Regions from separate parts of the Homo sapiens genome. Here region 1 is linked to region 2. Evidence: promoter capture Hi-C in human tissues and cell types (Jung and others, 2019). All regions are on one chromosome and are shown on one strand. The core of a region is centred on a gene start or on the middle of the fragment in contact, and the rest is flanking DNA. Distances in the headings are between cores, read along the strand shown.

The links. Contacts are between HindIII fragments. The study calls those that stand out against the background at their distance.
Region 1: the fragment with the promoter of AP2A2 here is called in contact with the fragment with the promoter of POLR2L in region 2 in 11 of the 25 tissues and cell types used here (H1 embryonic stem cells, IMR-90 fibroblasts, adrenal gland and 8 more).

What each region holds. Positions count from the first base shown.
Region 1 is chr11:924,478-927,653 of GRCh38, forward strand. It overlaps AP2A2 (adaptor related protein complex 2 subunit alpha 2), which reads left to right and starts at 1,393. Exons shown (of 22, transcript NM_012305.4): 1 at 1,393-1,611. The coding sequence starts at 1,545. RefSeq lists a silencer at 1,205-1,744. The HindIII fragment of the contact is 16,179 bases long and covers 1-3,176 here.
Region 2 is chr11:840,492-843,787 of GRCh38, forward strand. It overlaps POLR2L (RNA polymerase II, I and III subunit L), which reads right to left and starts at 2,038. Exons shown (of 2, transcript NM_021128.5): 1 at 1,923-2,038. The coding sequence starts at 2,017. It overlaps TSPAN4 (tetraspanin 4), which reads left to right and starts at 2,361. Exons shown (of 9, transcript NM_003271.5): 1 at 2,361-2,424. RefSeq lists enhancers at 297-1,041, 1,042-1,787, 1,788-2,531 and silencers at 1,800-2,429, 2,540-2,629, 2,650-2,879, 2,865-3,033. The HindIII fragment of the contact is 28,886 bases long and covers 1-3,296 here.

The sequences.
Region 1 (3,176 bases), core at 143-2,642, 83 kb after region 2:
TAGGGACTCCGGAGGGGTGTACCGTCCTCCAGGAAGCCCTCTGCTGGGTCGGCTCCGTGCCTCTGTCTTGGGAAGTGATGGACTTGGTTGCCTTATGCTGACTGGGGTCTGTCACAGATCTTGGTTTTCCCCAGGAGTTCTGGAGGCCCAGAGCCTGGGTGCGGCACCCGGTTCATTGGGGAGGGGCATGGGTCCTGTGCCCTCCTCCTGGCCGGGCTCCACCAGGGCTAAGCTCTCATCTGGGGCTGCGGAAGTGAGCCAGGGTGGGGACAAAGCCCTGGCTGGTGGGTCTGGGCCAGTTCCAGGTACAGGGTCCAGATCCCCCCACTGCAGCAGGAGGGAGCTTCCTGTTCAAAGCCATCTGGCTCTGGGAAGGACAGTGAGGCAGGGCCATCTGCTTCCCCACTCCCTGGGGTCTCTTCCTGGCCGGGACCTGGAGCTGTGCAGCCTGGCCCAGCAGGTCCTCCCTTGCGATGTGTCCACAGGGGTGGGCCTAGGCCTCCAGCTTGCAGTGGTGCAGAGGGCTGGGGAGCAGAGGGGGCCCTGGCAACAGTGGCCAAAAGTCCTGGCGCCGCCGAGGGACTAGATTCCGCAGGGGCTGCCGCCCCCGGCCGCTGTCACTGGGGTGGGGTGGGTGGTTGTTTCTCTGCAGGCCCAGGTGATGTGGAGGGGGCACCTGGGCTGCCACACAGACCCTGGGCTGGGTCGGGCACGGGGCCTGCCTCGCCCCCAGCTCAGGGACCGCAAGAGATGTGGCCCTGGCGGCTCAGGGCGGCAGGAGGGGCGGGCCAGCCCCACCGTCTCAGGATACCGTGCTAGGGGAGGGTTTCCTCGCCAAAGGCCGTCCAGCGGCTGTGACCCCTTCGCCTGGAGCCCCAGCTTCCTCCCGGCGCCGCCCTCCCGCCCCGGCCCCCGCGGAACAAACAAGGCCCTGGCCTCGGAGCTGCCCCGCCGCCCAGCGCTCACAGGTCGTTTATTCCAAGTAAGAAAACGGAGACTGCTCGGGGCAAGCTAGCGGGGCCGAGGCCCAGGACGAGGCCGTACGCGTGTGCCTGCGTGGCCGCCTCTTTTGCAGTGACCACCAACAACGACAGAGGCGGCCCGCTGCACACGCGGGTTCCCGCCCGGACCCACGCCCTTCCCGTGGGGGACGCGGGCGGCATCGCCAGCTTGGCGCGGCCCCGGGACGCGAACGCGTGGCTTCAGCGGCTCCGTCCATGGTGTCCGCCTGCAGGGGGCGCCCCCGCGCCTGCCTCGACCGGCTCGCCCCCGTGCCGCGGACGCGCGCGCGCTGCCTCACGCGACACCCGCCCCGGCCGCCGTCCGTCGTCGCTCGCGTGCGTGCGCGTGCGTGCTGGTGCGGGCGCCGTACGTGCGCGCGCGCGGCGGCCCAGAAAGCGGCGCTGGGACCCTGAGGCGGCCGTGGTTAGGCGGCTCCCCGGCGGCTCCTCCGCGGCGGTGACGGCGACCGCACTCCCCGCTTCCCGCTCCCCGCGCTCCTCCGCCCGGGTCCGCCAGCCGAGGCCGCTCCCGAGCGTCGGAAGATGCCGGCCGTGTCCAAGGGGGACGGGATGCGGGGCCTGGCGGTCTTCATCTCGGATATCCGCAACTGTGAGTGGCGGGGGCGGCGTGGGGCCGGGGCCGGGGCCGCCGGCGGAGACGGGGTCTGGGAGCGGAGGCCCGGGGCGGGGCCTCGAGGCGGGGGTGCAGGCTGGGATGCGGGCGGGGCCCGGGGCCTGAGGGTGCGGGCGGCGCTCGGGGTCTTGGGGTACCGGGTCTGGGGGTGGGGGCCAGGGTGCGGGGTGGGGGTCCAGGGTCTGGGGGTGCGGGCGGCGCTCAGAGTCTTGGGGTATCGGGTATGGGGGTGCGGGTCAGGATGCAGAGCGGGGCCCTGGGTCTGGGGGTGCGGGGTGGGGTGTCCAGGGTCTAGGGGTGCGGGGTCTAGGGGTTTAGGGCACGGCCCTTCATCCACATCTCCACTCCCGTTTGCTGGTCCGTGCGGGGGGCTGCGGCACCACCAAGGGGGTTCCGGGCCAAGACGCCCCTCCCCAGCATGATGTCACCTTGGTCTTTCTAGTACTGGAGCGTTTAACCCAGCGTTTTCCAAAACGGCGTGGATTTTAGCTTTGGGAGCAGAAATCTGGAAATCAGTGTCTTCCCAGGAAACAGCTTTGTGACCTGGGTTCTGGAGGCTTATTAACCCCTGATTAGATCTCACCTACGACGATTAAAATGACTCATTCCCGGAGGGAATCTGGACACGAGCAGCAGTCGGGGTGTGGGATGGCCTCGCTGCCTGCTGCTCCAATCACAGACCTCGTTCTCAGCCCCGTGCCTGTCCCCTCGGGGTGGGAAAAATCCACACCAAACCGTTAAACAAGCCAGGAAGGCTGGGCCTGTTAGAAGGATGTGCAGGGTGGCTGGGTGGGTGCACCGGTCCACCAATTAATTTGACTTTGGTGTGCAGAACCTCCTCTTGGCTTTCAGAGGCCATCTCCTTATTTAATTTGAGGGAGAAACAAAGCCAGTTTCCTGTCTGCTGCGTTGATTTTTTTCCTTGTTATCCAGCAAATAGTTGACTTCATGATTTTTGTTTTTCTTTTTTTTGAGACAGGGTCTTGCTCTGGCTCTCAGGCTGGAGCGCAGTAGTTCCATCACGGCGCACTCAACCTCCCACCTCAAGTGATCCTACCACCTCAGCCTCCGGAGTCACTGGGACTACAAGCGTGCACCACCACCATGCCTGGCTGATTTTCGTGTTTTTTGTAGAGATGGGGGGGTCTCGCCATGTTGCCTAGGCTGGTCTCGAAATCCTGAGCTCAAGTGATCCACCTGTCTTGGCCTCCCAAAGTCCTGGGGTTACTGGCGTGAGCCACGGCACCCTCATAATTTTTAATGTGTATTTTGAGGGACTGTTGTGATCTTCCCTTTGAATTCTCATCTCCTTAGACGGGATGGAGGATCAGGAGGATAGTGGTTCTCCCACACTCTGTGGAAGGGTAGAGGACCATCTAACCCTTCCTGTACTCTGTTAAAAAAAAAAAAAAAAAGCATAGAGCTGGGTGCGGTGGCTCAAACCTATAGTCCCAGCATTTTGGGAGGCTGAGGCAGGTGGATCTTTTGAGCCCAGAAGTTTGAGACCAGCCTGGGCAATGTGGTAACACCCTGTCTCTACA
Region 2 (3,296 bases), core at 788-3,287:
GGAGGAGCAGAGGCCAACTGAGTTCTCTACGGTCTGCAAAGGCCTGGAGCCCACATCCAACCTGCCTCTCACTGCCTGCTGGCCTCACCCCCCCCGCCACCGGCAAGGCGAACAGATTCACCCGGCTCAGAAGCTGAGATCTAGCAGTATGATCCTGGCTGGAGTAACCTGGAAATGCCCAGAACCCTGGGTGGAGCGTGAGGAGCCTCCTCTCCCACCTACTCTGGCTGTACGTGTGTGTGTATAACGTATGTAAGAAATGTAAATGAAATGAAAACGAAGTAATTGCGGGGAGCTTAGAAAACCAAGACCACCAAGGTGCTGATGTGCAGCCACCTCATCCAGCACTGGCCACGGCAGGGTAGCTCTCCAGGGGCCTGCCCTTAGCTGGTTCACCCCCACCCCAGCCAGAGCAAGCCCTGCTCTGCCGCTGTGGGGTCTTTCCTCACCTCTGCTTCCTTCCATCAGAGAGAGACTGCTTCTCCACGGAGCCACCTCTCCCACTTCCCAAGCCAATTAGAAGCTTTCATTTCCCTGGGACCTAGCTCCAGTCACCCTCAAGACCTCCAGAAAACTCCCACACCGATGGCTCCAATGTGCAGAGACACAGAAGCTTGGGAAAGGGGAGGCCACATGGGAGGCCCCTGCCGTTCCTATCCGGGGAAAGGGTCTGGACAGGCCGCCAGCCACTCAGTCTAGCAGCCCACTCGCTTTCCTCGTTTGTCCAGCAAGCTGCACCAAGTGCCGATGGCAGGCTGGCGCACACAAGCCCAGGGCTTCACATGTGACGAAGACTCAGTGGGCGAGGGTCAGACTCCAGCGGGGGCACCAAGACTCAGGCACCGTGGTGACAGCAGCACCAAGGGACAAGCACAGGAGAAAGACGCCTCCCCTACAAAGCCTGATGAGGGTGGTCAGCAAGTCTACCCTGCATTTCTTTTTCTGTGTGTGTGTGTGCGTGAGACGGAGTTTCACTCTCTCTTCCAGGCTGGAGTGCAGTGGCGTGATCTTGGCTCACTGCAACCTCCACCTGCCTCCCAGACTCAAGCGATTTTCTCGTCTCAGCCTCCCAAGTAGCTGGGACCACAGGTGTGCACCGCCATGTCCGGCGAATTAAAAAGATAGAGCCAGGCGCGGTGGCTCACGCCTGTAACCTCAGCACTTTGGGAGGTCGAGGCGGGTGGATCACCTGAGGTCAGGAGTTCCAGACCAGCCTGGCCAACATGGCGAAATCCCATCTCTACTGAAAATACAAAAATTAGCCGGGCGTGGTGGCACACGCCTGTAGTCCCAGCTACTCGGGAGGCTGAGACAGGAGAATTGCTGGAGCCCAGGAGGCGGGGGTTGCAGTGAGCCGAGATCGCGCCACTGCACTCCAACCTGGGCGACGGAGCGAGACTCCGTCTCAAAAAAGAAAAATAAAATAAAATAAATTTCTGGAGATCAGGGTCTCCCCAGGTTGTCCAGGCTGGTCTCGACCTCCTGGGCTCAAGCAAGCCTCTCGCCTCGGCCTCCCAAACTGCTGGGATTACAGATGTCAGCCGCCGCGCCCGCCCGTCCTGCAGCGAGGTTTGCAGGACATGGGGTGGGCCTGGGGGCAGAGATGGGAATAGGGCGGAGGCCAAGGGCTTTACTGCGGGTGACAAGACGCCTGCGACCCGCCAGGCCACCTAGAATCCCCAGGACACCACTGGTTTGAAGCCCAACTCCGTTCTCTTCCCCAGACTTCAGGGGATAAGGTTCTCCCGAAAGCAGATCACAGAGCGGGGCTGGAGAAGCCGGGCCTGAAGCTGCTCATGGGGCGCTGGCCTCAGGCAGCGCTGCGCCTCCCGCCCCGGCGCGCACCCCAGGGCGGACTCAGCCCCCAGCCCCGGCCCGCGCCCCACGGCGGACTCAGCCCCTAGCCCCGGCCCGCGCCTCACCCCTCGGTGTACTCGGCCTGCAGCAGCCCCAGGTAAGCCTCCCACTTGTTGCCGACGATCTTGCCACAAGTGAAGCAGCGTACAGGGATGATCATGGCGGCGGCGCGTCCCAGACTGCCCGGCCCGGCCCGGCCGCACGCGAAGAACCCCCCCAGGCCCCGCCCCGGGCGCGTCCACTGTTGCGGGAGAATCGGCTCCGCTCGTTCTCCGCTGTTCCGGCCGTCCCTCCACCGGCCCCGCCACCGCTGGCCGCAGTTTCCGCCGCGATAGGGGCTTCCCGTGCGTCCCGGGGCTCCTGGGCCTGTGCGTCCCGGGGCTCCCGGGCCCGCGCGGCCGCGGCAGCAGCAGACCGCACACCCCCGCCCACCGTCTTGGTGCATCCCGGCGCTACGGCGTCTGAGCAGGGCCGTAAAGCTGCGGCGGCGGTTCGCGTTTCTCGTGTCCGCTTGACTGACAGCTGCGCGGCGGGAGCGGGCGGCGCGAGCGGGAGGCGGCGGCGCAGGTACTGCGCCTGGGGGTTGTGGGGGCGTGCGGCCAGGGTCCCGTGGCCGGAGGTGTCCGACCGGGAGCGGCTGGAGCCGGACGCGAGCGGGGCGCGCGAGTTCGAGCCCAGAGCCGACACGCAGCAACAAGTGGGGTCCGGCGCGGGGGCTCGGGGAGAGGGCGGGCGGGGGCCGGGGCGGGTCTTCCTGCCGCCCCTCCTGGCCGCGCCGAGTAGTGGGTTCCTCCGCCTCGGCCTCTGCCCGCGGGGTGTCCGGGGCTCTCGGCGCTGAGTTCGGGGGTCCCATTCTGGACGCGGCCCAGCCCCTAGGGGCGCCGCCCTGGCCTCAGCTGCGCAATTACAGCCCCCGCCGGCAGCTCCCCGCCCCGGGCTCCTGTCCGCGTTCTTTCCGCTCTTTCCCGGGAATGGGGTCGGGGTGCGCCCTCCCGGGTCCCGGCTCTGCTGGCTGCTCGCCGTCCCGAGCTCCCGACGCTCAGACGCGCCTCTGAGCACGGGGAGAGGGGACCCGGGAGGGAGGTCGGGGAGGGAGTCGTGGAAGAGGTGCTTTTTGAGCTGAACCTGGAAGACCCCGGCACAGGGGATCCCTGGGCAGACTCCCGGAGGCTGCACTGGCAGGACCCCCTGAAGGCCTCAGCTCTGGCTTGCCCTGGAGCTCAGGGCCTACGGACGACGAGGGACGAGGAGCCCGTGTCTCTCGGATGGAGTGCGGGGGGGCTGGCACCAGCACCCTTCTTGCTGTGCCCCTGGGGTGGGGGTGAGGAAATGGGGGGTCGGTGTGCAGTGAGAGGCAAAGAAGGCTCCTTGGAGGTGCGAGGTGGGCTGTGGGGGTGGGTGGGCCGCAAAGCGGCACCCATGGGGGGCTCTGGGCTGGT